Linked DNA regions of Homo sapiens: region 2 is linked to region 1. Evidence: promoter capture Hi-C in human tissues and cell types (Jung and others, 2019). All regions are on one chromosome and are shown on one strand. Each heading gives the region's core, a stretch centred on a gene start or on the middle of the fragment in contact. The rest is flanking DNA. Distances are from core to core; before and after follow the strand shown.

Region 1 (6,272 bases), core at 2,752-5,251:
ACAGCACACACTTTACATACGTTGTATTTCATATGACTTAGAAAAAGAATATACATATACACATACAAACATATTTGCATAAAATATCCAGATTACAGAAGAAAACTAGTAACAGTTGTTTGCAGGGAGGGGACCTGAATGAGGAATTAAGGGACAGAGAGAAGGTAGAGAAAGACTGTTTACAGTCCTAGTTTTCAACTTCTACAATCAACCAGAGATAAAGCATGGAAGATTTAATTGTGATAAGATACAAATGTTATTAGCTTTGACAATGTCAAATTACTAGATAACACAAATTGATAGCTAGATGTGAACTAGAAAGGGAAAAGGGATACATGCACTAATAGTCATACTTTACAAACTGGGGAGTCAAGGAATACATTAAAAATTGGACACAACAACCAAAGACATCCTAGTATGTTATATAAACTGTAAAGGTAAAGAAACTAAAACTAGTGATACAACTACCAAAAATCAGAAAGACAGCAGGGGATTTATGGGGTTCTACAGGTTAGCCAAATCTTCATTTATCACAGCAGGAAGTCAATACATACCGTCTACAGCTGACAAACCAATGGGTAAGCATATTAGTTAGAAATAAACGTAACCACCAGAAAAGCTCAAAACACAAACAAAACAGTGGGTGGACGGCAGCTGTACTTCATTATAAGCCATTAGGTAACGATTTGATTTTCAAGTATGGATATGTATTATAAAAACGAAAAAAATGTATTTACTTAGACCATACACACCTAAGGACATAAGAACATTTATTTTACCCAGTAAAAAATAATATAATGCAGACTGAATCCACAGGGGCTATGATGGCTAACATTCAGATCTACCAATGTAGGACAGAGCAAAGGGATTCAATTACAGAGATAAATGAGGATGAAGGCAGAGGATGAAAATAAACACACCAATCATTCAATAAATGGCCATTTATTAAAAATCCAAGCTAAGCACTATGCTGTGATAGAGGCTAGAGTGGAAAACTACATAAGACCACCCCACTTCTATTCCTAGTACCCTCCAGTTTATTTTCCCCAGGGCAGCAATGTTGTGCACTTAAAATACAAATCTGATCATATCACTCATGTCTTTGAAAAGCTGGTAATTAAAAATGAAGAGGTAAAGTAGGCTCCAAACATTTTTGACTGCAGAACTTACAGAAAGTCTGTCACAAGGAGTGCCTGCCTTAGGTAGGACTAACAAAAGTTAATTTTAAGAAAAATGAGTAGGTGGAAAGAGAGGCTGAAGAAAAATCTGCAAATTAAAAGAATGCTCAATAGTCTAGACATAGAGTTGGCCATGGTAGTCTATCTATCTAATAAGACATTTAAAAAATATCTATCAAAAGGACCAGGGGCCTAGGTTGACAGGGAGATGCAGAACAAAGGAGTAAAAAAGAGTGGAATAAATCAAGATATTTCTAAAGGTAATAAGGCTTGAAGGAGGTAATGAGAACACCCTGGGAGAATAAGGATACATGGCTTTTGCTAAGCTATTCAATCAAAATACATGTGTCGCTCAACAACAAGGATACATCCTGAGAAATGCATCACATCTTCAGGCGATTTCACCACTGTGTGAACACCATAGAGGGTACTTACACAAAGCTAGATGGTATAGCCTACTACACACTTAGTCTACAGGGTATACCTATTGTTGTCAGGTTACAAACCTGAACAGCATGTTACTGTACTGAATACTGTAGGCAACTGTAACATGAGGATAAGTGTATTTAAACAAATCTAAACATAGAAAAGGTAATGTATTTCATTAGGATGTTATGACCACTACCTCACTGGGCAAAAGGAATTTTTCAGCTCCATTATAATCTGATGGGACCACCCTCATGTGAGCAGTCCATGGCTGACCAAAAAGTTATTACGCAGCACATGACTACATACGTGTAGTGAAGAGTAAGCTGATCAGACTGAAGAATTAAGTAGCAGAAATCGCTCTGAGGCTAGGTAGCTAAAATTAGGTATTTCAAATATTTTCTTTTTTAATGACAAAATTTAGTTAGTACACAAGTTAATCCATGACTCCTAAAAATACAGACAAGTACAAGTCTTATTGCAGCAAAATAATCACTTCACACAGATTGTTGAAGAAAAAAGAACAAGCGGTGACCCTTTAAATGTTAACAATTGTTTCTGATCTGTAACATGATGAGGGGGGGCAAGCCTGACATTTAGGGATGGCGATCAAAGTAGGAATCGAACTTTCGAATTCATCTAACTCCACTGGGATCTTTATATTCCCTCCTATTTCTTTATGGTTAGCAATTTTCAGGTAGAAATTTTAATTCCCCAAGGGAGAAAACTGAACCTCACTAGGTTTAGCAAGTTACTTTTTTCTATCCTAATAGCAAGTGCGGAGAATTATCCCTACACAAACAAGAAGCAGGCATCCGTTTTATGAGATTTTGAATTTCACATCAACATGCAAAAGACAGGCGGAAATGATTGCCCACTGAGAGGGAACTCACCTTCCAGAAAAGCAAATTCATCCACAGCTTCTATTGCATTATCTGAAACACAAGGAAAAGAGACACCTGACTAACTTCAGCCATGCTGACCTCAGTCAGAAAACAGCACAATCTGCAGTGAAGGGCATGAGGCTTTGGGCAAATGAGGGCATTTATAAGATGCGTCCCTTGCTGCCTTGAGATCCATATCTACTCTACCAGCAACTCTTATATATATTAGCTGTCTCCCTAGAAGAGTTAAGAAAAGCATAGGCAAATACCATTCAACGCGGGGGTTGGGGGCCTCCTAAATTACCCCTAAATTATTTATTCGCTTTGCTCTTAAAGTTGTCAGAGAAGAACGTGGCAATAGACGCAGGGCGCATGAGAATACGGTATACGAAATCTTACCCAGGTGAGGGTTCCCAGCCAGACAAGAGTCAGAAATCAAATCCCCAGTTGCTAGGTGAAAAAGAAATATCTTTTTCTGGTGCAATTTGGCAGAAGGTATGAAGGGATCCAGTCCGCTACGGCAACCCCAGACACCTTCACACACTGCCCCGCCACCCCAAGCAGACAGCCTCTACAGGTAGGGCTTCCTGGCACTGTGGCCAACAGAAACCATCCTGGGGAGAGACGCTGTGGCACCTCTCAGATCAGAGTGACGTCTTCTCAACCTGCACAAGGGGAAACCAGCCCAGCCCTCCCTTGTCTGTCCCCAGACACTGCAGTGCCACTCTACCCAAGTCTCTCCTCTGAAGGGTTTTCCTTTTTCCCTGCTGAGCGCAACAGTAGGCATCTTTTGCAATGGTCTCCACAAACAGTTCCTGTGAAGTAAAAAAGCAAAGTTTTAGTAATGGGTTCTAACACACTGAGGAGGTGAGGGCTCCGGTTTGTGGGTGGGGGCAGAAAGGGAGAAGAAAGGCTCGGGGCAAGAAAATGTTCTGGAAGCTAAGATTGTCCTGGACTTCATGAAGATCCATTCCGCTACCCTCTTCCCAGTATTCTCCCTCATTCACTAAAGACTCCTACAAGTTCTGTACGAGGCCCTGGAGATACAAATTAAAGTCACTCACTATCCAGGTCCTCAACAAGAGGGAGGAGTGTTAACAAAACTCGCACAGGTCCCCGGCCCCTTTCCTCCGCCTTCCGGGTCCACGCCCACATCTCAAAACCCGGGCCACGCCGCCCTAAGCCCCGCCCGCGGGAGGCCCCGAGGCCCCGCCCCACACTCCACCTCCCCCACTCCCGCATGCCCTCGCGCTGCAGGCGCACCGCGGCTCGTGCCAGAATGAAGATGGCTTCCTGTCCCGCTAGCGTCACGTCGGGATCTGCCTTCACCAAGGCCTTCACTCGCGCCAGAGGCAACCTCGAGAGACGAGCCCCAGGCACACTCGTTGGGGCCTGGGGCTGCGAGGCCGCTGCCTCCCCAGCAGGTCCCTCCTCCTCTCGGGGCGTCCCGCTTCCTGCCGCCGCCGCCGCCGCCATCCCGGCCTTGAGCGTGCTGCGCGCGGCCGCCGACTGTGCGCGCGCATGCGGCGCAGGCCCTTTCCCGCGCGGGCTGGAGGCCACACCCTGTGTAGGCGCGCGGCTCCGCCCCTACGCGGCAGTGCGCTGCCAGGAAACCGGGTGGGCGGGGGTCGGGCTCCGGCTCTTCCCACGCGCCTAGCCACCCGTGGGCTGTCGTGCACTTGGTTGACGCTACCGGCGACCCTCTGGCCCCGACGGGCCTGTGGAGCCCAGGCACCTCCCATTGGTGCCTGTGCCTGGCTGGTGAGGGGAGAAATCTAGACCAGGCTCGCAAGAGAGTCTCCGTCAAAACAGAGTGTGCATATTCCAAGGCTAACGAGGGCACGTGTCCGAGGGAGGCCCGGCCCTGGAGGGCCCAGCATCGTGGAAGAGGGTGCCAAGGAGGCAGCGAAATCTGGACCAAATTCAAGGATAACCAGTTATAGATGCTCTTGAAGGAGGGGTAGGGCTTTTGGCAGGCAGAAATGAAGAAATTCAGCCCAGCCAGAGGAAACAAGAAAAAGTCATGGAGGCTAGAAAAGATGAAATTGTGGTGGTGAGGCATCCACGTTTGTTCAAAAAGAGGTTGCATCACAGCTTTGGTTCTCAAATTTGACCTCAAGATCCCTTTACGGTCTTAAAGATTGTTAAAGAGCCCAGGGAGCTTTTGTTTCTGTCAGTTATATCAATACTTACTATATTAGAATTAAAGTTTTAAAATATTGATTTAAAATTACTAATGCGTTACCAGCTAACAAACAACATTTTTATGACAAGTAATTTTTTTTAAATCTAGTAAGAAAAGTCTCTAATGTCTGATTTCATGTGAGAACTGGATTCTCTAGCTGCTTCTGTTGCTAACGTTAGCACTTCTCAGGTAGCTCTTAAAAAACTACTACATCTTGAGAGAATGTGAATGAAAAAGGCAACCTCATAGTAGTATTAAGAAAATAATTTTGGCCTCATGGACTCCTGAAAAGGGTCTCCAGAAAATTCCCACCCCCATGAATCCCCACACCACACTTGGAGGTCTGATAGCGTAGAGGAACAGTTAATATTTAAAATAGGTTTAATCTAAGTCAATCATAATAATAGTGAACACCTTTAAACATTTACTATGTGCATGATTCAAAGTGTTTTAGATTTATGTAAATCATAACTTCTGTAATTTTCACAATACCCTATTGAGGTAAATATTATAACCTTCTTTTTCAAACCTTATTTGAAAAAATTGAGGTGCAGAGTGGTTACTGAGTCGCATACACAGGGCAGAATGTGGTGAAGCCAAGATGAAGCTGAATTAAACACATCTGAAATCACTCAGTTCCAAAATTATGTAGTAAACTCTGACTGGTGTAGGAGTGGAAAGGTGTGAAACCTTTCTTTACCCATTTTAAGGGTCACAGCTGACACTCCTATAACACACACAAAAAGCCTAACAAGTCTAATCAAAGTTTTACATGACATGAGAGTCCAAAAATGCAGACCATGAGACCTAGAGGAAACTATTTTTATGCTTAGGTTATATGAAGAAGGGATCGCTGTGTAGAAATGTGATTAGAGGCCTGGTACGGTGGGTCACACTTGTAATCCCAACACTTTGGGAAGCCAAGGCAGGAGGACCGCCTGAGCCCAGGAGTTTGAGACCAGCCTGGGCAACAGATGGAGACCCCATTTCTACACACACACACACACACACACACACACACACACACACACACACAAATTAGCTGGGTATTGTGATCCTATAGTCCTAGCTACTTGGGAGGCTGAGGTGGGAGAGTTGCTTGAGCCCAGGAGTTCAAGGTTACAGTGAGCAATGATTGCACCACTGCACTCCAGCCTGGGCGACAGAGAGAGACCCTGTGTCTTAAAAAGAAAAAGAAATGGGATTGGACAAAAAGGGAATGATAATAGTCTAATGGTAATAGACTGAATGGGGAAACCCAGCAAGGCCTGTCTGTTCATATTCTTCTTGGCCTCCCTGTGTAGCATTCCTTCTGGTATTAGGGCAGGACCCTTCTGGAATGAGGGTCTTCAAGGGAGAAGGCAGAAAATAACCTTTCTAGGTTTTACGACTTGCTTGGAGGAAGGAGAATTCTAGTTTCTATGACCTGCGTTGGGAAAGAGGAATTCTGGTTTCCATGACTCACTGCGAAGAGTGGTGATGTTACAGTGGGTAGCTAGTCAGACACGAACAGGGCAGGATAGGGCCCCCACGCTCCACCAGGAATGTCAGAAGATCATCAGGTGATGGTCAGACAGTGGTCACACCGCCTCTCTAAAA
Region 2 (6,272 bases), core at 1,549-4,048, 320 kb after region 1:
GGTGTCCAAGCCCTTCCTGCAGAGTTGAGTCCCGCCTCCTACCTCACTATCAAAACTAAACTCATACGTGCCTTATGGCCCAGCAATACTGTGTCCAGAATTGGTGGGTTCTTGGTCTTGCTGACTTCAAGAATGAAGCCGCGGACCCTGGCGGTGTTACAGTTCTTAAAGATGGTGTGTCCGGAGTTTGTTCCTTCTGATGTTCGGATGTGTCTGGAGTTTCTTCCTTCTGGTGGATTCATGGTCTCGCTGGCTTCAGGAGTGAAGCTGCAGACCTTTGCAGTGAGTGTTACAGCTCTTAAGGCGGCGTGTGTGGAGTTTTTCATTCCTCCCGGTGGGTTTGTGGTCTCCCTGGCCTCAGGAGCGAAGCTGCAGACCTTCACGGTGAGTATTACAGCTCATAAAGGCAGTGCGGACCCAAAAAGTGAGCAGCGGCAAGATTTATTGCAAAGAGCGAAAGAACAAAGCTTCCACAGTGTGGAAGGGGACCTGAGCAGGTTGTCCTGCCTCTACTTTAAAATGGCGTTTTCAGATGTGAGAGATGGAGATGGATAATTAAATTTAATTATACATTAAATAAGGCCTCTGACTACCTGTTTGTGTGAATTTCTCTGTGTCAGCTTCAAGTTCAGCATTCCATGTAGAAATTGGCCCCATGTACTTAAAGTACAGTTTAAAAATATGTTATGTGCTTTCTTGGTAAATACATTAGTAATTGATTTGGGTTTCTGGTTCAAGATGACTTTCAACAGATTAGCATATTAATTCATTTATTTTTCTAGCTGTATCCAGCACGTAATTGGAACTCAATTTTTAAAAATGTTGAATGAACAAATGCTGACTTCCACTATCCAAAAAGGGAAGTTTGAAGAGAATAACTTCACTGATTCATTTGGGGAAATACATCTATCTATGTATTTTTTTTTTTTTTTTTGAGACGGGGTCTCGCGCTGTCACCCAGGCTGGAGTGCAATGGCGCGATCTTGGCTCACTGCAACCTCCGCCTCCTGGGTTCCAGCGATTCTCCTGCCTCAGTCTCCTGAGTAGCTGGGATTACAAGCGCGTGCTACCACGCCCGGCTAATTTTTGTATTTTTAGTAGAGATGGGGTTTTACCATGTTGGTCAGGCTGGTCTCAAACTCCTGACCTTGAGATCCACCCGCCTCAGCCTCTCAAAGTGCTCGGATTACAGGCGTGAGCCACTGCGCCCGGCCTATCTATGTATTCTTAGATCATTTTTAAAGATTCTAAATTCCAAAGTGTTTCTGAAAATTATCATAATTATCTTTGTATTGTCACAGGGGAAATCAAATAAGCTTTAATTTTCCCTACATTCTTTAGCTAAAAACAATTATATAGAATGATTTTAGTTCTCAGAGGTGGGGACATATTTTTTAGCTATCTTTTTTATCATATTTCTTTTGTTTTCTTTTGATTGTCCTAATGTTCTTCTTGAAATATTTTTATTATTAAATATAACATATATACAGAAAATGTCATAAAACATGAATGTGTAGTTTAATAGTAGAAAGTGAATACCCAATATCCACAATAAAGATCAAGAAATAGAACATTAGGCTGGAAGTGGTGGCTCATCCCTGTAATCCCAGTACTTTGGGAGGCCAAGGTGGGAGGATTGCTTGAGCCCAGGAGTTTGAGACCAGCCTGGGCAACATGGCAAAACCCTGTCTCTACCAAAAAAACACACAAATTAGAGAGGCATTGTGGTGCATGCCTGTAGTGCCAGGTACTTAGGAGGCTGAGGTGGGAGGATCACTTGAGCCTGGGAGGTGGAGGTTGCAGTGAGCTGAGATTGGGCCACTGCTGCACTCCAGCCTGGGCGATGGAGCGAGACCCTGTCTCAAAAAAAAAAAAAAAAAAGAACATTACCAACACCCCAGGACCCCCTTCTTTTGTCTCTTCTCATCATAATGCCTTCATTCTTTCCTAGGGAAAATCACTACCCTCATTTTTGTGATAATCAATTCTTTGCTTTTCTTTATAATTTTATCACTGTGTATGCACCTCTAAACAATATAACTACTTTTGCTTATTTTTAAAATGTAGATGAAATCATGCTACATGTGTATGTATTCTTTGTGTCTTGCTGCTTTTACTCAATATTATGTTTCTTAGAATCATCCATGTTGCCACATGGAACTGCAGTTCATTCATCTTCATTGCTGTATGTGGAAATATACTATGATTTATCCATTTTAATGTAGATTGACATTTGTGTTTTTTTCAGTTTTGGGTAATTGTGAACAAGATTGTTATTAATAGTCTTTTGGCTGCTATGATCTGACTTTTTTTTCATGTATCCTGTTATATATGATTATTTAAAGATTATATGATTAAGAACAAAAAAAATCCAAAAAGTTCTATAGATAAATTATTATAATTAGTAAGAGAGTGCAGCAAGGTTGTTAAAGTCAATATACAAAAATTAATTATAGCTGGGCACAGTGGTTCATGCCTATAATCCCAGCATTTTGGGTGGCAGAGCCGGTTGGATTGGTTGAGCTCAGAAGTTCAAGACCAACCTGGGCAACATAGCAAGACCCCATCTCTATAAAAGATTGTTTTAATTAACTATATTTCTATACATAAGCAACAAACTAAAAATGAAATTTAAAAAGATGAGAAAGGGAAACTTTGTCATCGATAGTTCTTTGAAATGTAAATTAATATTTAAAAATCAACAGATCCCTAAGACTAAAATTTGACAAAAGACAAGGAGATCTTTTGGGAAAAATTACAAAGCTGTAGATTATTTTAGATTTTCTATATACACAATCATTGGCACACAATGACAGTTTTCTTTCTTCCATTGCAATGCCTTTTATTTATTTGTCTTACCTCATTACTACCTTCACTATAATGCTGAATAGAAGTGATGATAGCATGCTCCTTGTCTTACATGGAAAGCTTTCAACATATCACCATGAAGAATGATGTTTGCTCTCTCTTTTTGTAAATATATTTTGTCAGATTATTCCTATCATCTATTCTTACTCAGTCTTTATCATGCACAAATGCTGGGTTTTAAACAGAGGCTTTTTTGCGTCTATTGGGATGATCATATCATTTTTCTCATTTACTTTTTTAATGTGACGAATTACGTGATTGATATTCTAATGTTATATCAACCTTATGTTCTTGGGATAAACTCAACTTGGTCATGCTGTTTTTTTTTGTATATTATTAGTTTCAATTTCTCTATATTTTATTTAGAATTTTTACAAGTTTATGGGTGAGATTATCCTATAATTTTTTTCTTATTACACCTTTATCTGGTTTCACTTTCAAAGGTCGTGCTAACCTCGTAAAATTAATTGAGGAGGCCAGGTGCCGTGGCTCACGCCTGTAATCCCAGCACTTTGGGAGGCCGAGGCGGGCAGAAGTTCGAGACCAGCATGACCAACATGGAGAAACCCTGTCTCTACTAAAAATACAAAACTAGCCAGGCATGGTGGCACATGCCTGTAATCCCAGCTACTCAGGAGGCTGAGGCAGGAGAATCGCTTGAACCCGGGAGGCGGAGGTTGCAGCGAGCCAAGATCATGCCATTGCACTCCAGCCTGGGCAACAAGAGTGAAACTCCATCTAAAAAAAAAAAAAAAATTAGTTGAGGAGTGTATCCTGTTATATATGTTCTTCTGTTCTTAAAATAATTTGTTTAAGATTGAAATTCTTGGCTGGGCGCGGTGGCTCACACCTGTAATCCCAGCACTTCAGGAGGCCGAGGCAGGTGGATCACTTGAGCCCAGGAGTTTGAGACCATCTTGGGCAACATGGCAAGACCCCATCTCTACAAAAAAAAAAAAAAAGATTGAAATTCTTGGTCTTTGCATGTTTGATGGAGCTCATCAGTGAAATCATCTGACCCTCTTACTTGTGGGAAGATATTTGATTACCAATTACATTTCCTTAATGATTATAGACTATTTAGGTTTCTAAAATTTCTTTAGTATTGGTTAGATACATTTTTCTAGGAATTTGTCCACTTTATCAAACTTATTAGCATAAAGCTATTCATTATGTCCTCCTATAACCCTTTTCACGTTTGAGCATTTGTGATGATGTCCCTTTCTCATTCCTTATATTGGTTCTTTGTTCTCAATTGTTCTCACTTCCTAATCTGAGTCCTGGGGATAAGTATAAGTAGCCAGTAGAGAAAGAAGGCAGGAGTATTGGAGGCAGAGAAGCAGCATGAGCAAATGCACTAAAGTGAATATATTTGGTATTGTTTCCGTGAAAATCTTGAGGCGAAGAACAATTTCTAATGAGGCTAACAATTAAGTAATGACAGGTCTTAAAGACAGTTTAAATTTTACCTTATAAGAGATTCAGACAACCAAAGAATTTTAACCAAGGAGAAATGTAGTCATATTTTCATTTTTAAGAATTATTCGTTAGGTACTAAACACACATATGCTAGGCATTGATGAATAATATCAACAAGACAGGTTCTCTACCCTTGGGAAGCTTACAATATAGTGGGAGAGGCAGTCATAGAAACAAATTGTAATAGAGTGCAATAAATGCCAATAAAGAAACAAAGTTTATGAGGGCAGATAGCTTACTTTGAGACAGAAGCTTGAGTTTTTTGGTGTAACTTTTGATTAGTTCCACTCAGCATCTCTAAGCATTCTCAGGCTTACATGATAGGCAAACATCTAGATCTCTTGGGAGCTGTTAAAATAGGATGGCCTGGGCCAGGTACGGTGGCTCACGCCTGTAATTCCAGCACTTTGGGAGGCCAAGGCGGGCGGATCGTGAGGTCAAGAGATCAAGACCATCCTGGCCAACATGGTGAAACCCCATCTCTAAAAATACAAAAATTAGCTGGGCGTGGTGGTGTGCACCTGTAGTCCTAGCTACTCGGGAAGCTGAAGCAGGAGAATCGCTTGAACCTGGGAGACAGAGGTTGCAGTGAGCCAAGATCGCACCACTGCGCTCCAGCCTGGTGACATACCGAGACTCTGTCTCAAAAAAAAAAAAAAAATAGGATGGCCTGGACAAGCTTTAGTACCCAATCTGACTCCTTTCTGGATTTGTTTCCCTCGACTTGTATTTTATATTTCAACAGAGCACACATAATTCAGTTTGAAAACCAGTGGTTTCTCTTTCCTTCCCTATAGGTGTAAAGAATATCCAGCTGGTGGCTACAGTTCCCCCTCTGGTTTTGCTGCCATGCATCCTGGGCGAACTACTGGTAAAGGGCCCTCTACTCACACTCAGATTGACCAGCAACCTCCACGGCTTCTCATTGTGCACATTGCTCTACCGTCCTGGGCTGACATCTGCACCAACCTCTGTGAGGCTCTGCAGAACTTCTTCTCTCTAGCCTGCAGCTTGATGGGCCCCAGCCGCATGTCCCTGTTCAGTTTATACATGGTACAAGATCAGCATGAGTGCATCCTCCCTTTTGTGGTAAGTATATCTATATTTATTCATTTTACCCTGAAAGCAAATACAGTGGTAAGGTTTCTGGAATAGAGATCACAGTTATTAATACTTATAACAATAACCGCACTACTTCTCCACACACAGTAGCCCCCGAGTAACACCATGAGAGCCAGAGGGCATCCTGCATATATAGGGGTGTGTACTGTTGAAGAGAAAATCCAAAATTATTAATCTGGGAGTATAAATAGGCTACAAGCTCCACTCCAGAGAGAGGGAGAGAAACCTTGGCATTGACAGATGTTTGAAATGTAAACAACTGACTCCTTTTATGCCCTTTGAAATGTAAACACACAAGGAGGGAAGCCTCTAAATCTCTTCTGAGGTCTCTGACTATTCAATCATCTTTTAACTTCCAAGACTTGCCCTTTAACCCAGGTACCAGTTTTCTTTGCTCAGAAAGCCCTAACTATGCAAAAACATGAAAATATTTTTTCTACATTCCACATAGACTCAGGTGAAACTGCCCCCTAGGGTTATGGAAGGCAATGGCTGGGCCAGGGGCAGTGTCTTTACAAAGCTCCTTCATACATAAACAATTATCTATGCTCCTCCTCAAAATTTCAATCTTCCCTTTCTCCCTTGTATAAAATTCAGAATCATAGTGAAGAGAAAGACTTCCAGAGGTTCTATGCATCTCCTTCCTTGAGGTAGCCTTGCTGCTAATATACGTTATCAAATGGATATAAGTCTTATTTAAGATTTCCAAAAGAGGAAATTTCATAAATCCATTGCTGAATTATGAATGTAATATATGACTGAAATCTATTTTTTTATTAATGCCTTAGTTTCCCTCATTGGAA

The links. Contacts are between HindIII fragments. The study calls those that stand out against the background at their distance.
Region 2: a contact is called between a fragment that was not itself captured here and the fragment with the promoter of POLE4 in region 1, in 1 of the 25 tissues and cell types used here (H1 embryonic stem cells).

The regions. Positions count from the first base shown.
Region 1 is chr2:74,956,372-74,962,643 of GRCh38, reverse strand. POLE4 (DNA polymerase epsilon 4, accessory subunit) reads right to left here and starts at 4,001. Exons shown (of 4, transcript NM_019896.4): 1 at 3,752-4,001; 2 at 3,219-3,303; 3 at 2,498-2,539. The coding sequence starts at 3,964. LOC105374809 (a long non-coding RNA gene) reads left to right here and starts at 3,765. Exons shown (of 5, transcript NR_187884.1): 1 at 3,765-3,912. RefSeq lists silencers at 3,553-3,792, 3,863-4,122 and enhancers at 3,414-3,914, 3,915-4,415. The HindIII fragment of the contact is 11,068 bases long and covers 1-6,272 here.
Region 2 is chr2:74,639,200-74,645,471 of GRCh38, reverse strand. M1AP (meiosis 1 associated protein) reads left to right here. Exons shown (of 11, transcript NM_001321739.2): 2 at 5,145-5,436. The coding sequence starts at 5,197. Among named protein-coding and RNA genes, the nearest start is that of M1AP, 6.0 kb to the left of the region's middle. The HindIII fragment of the contact is 6,169 bases long and covers 1-5,882 here.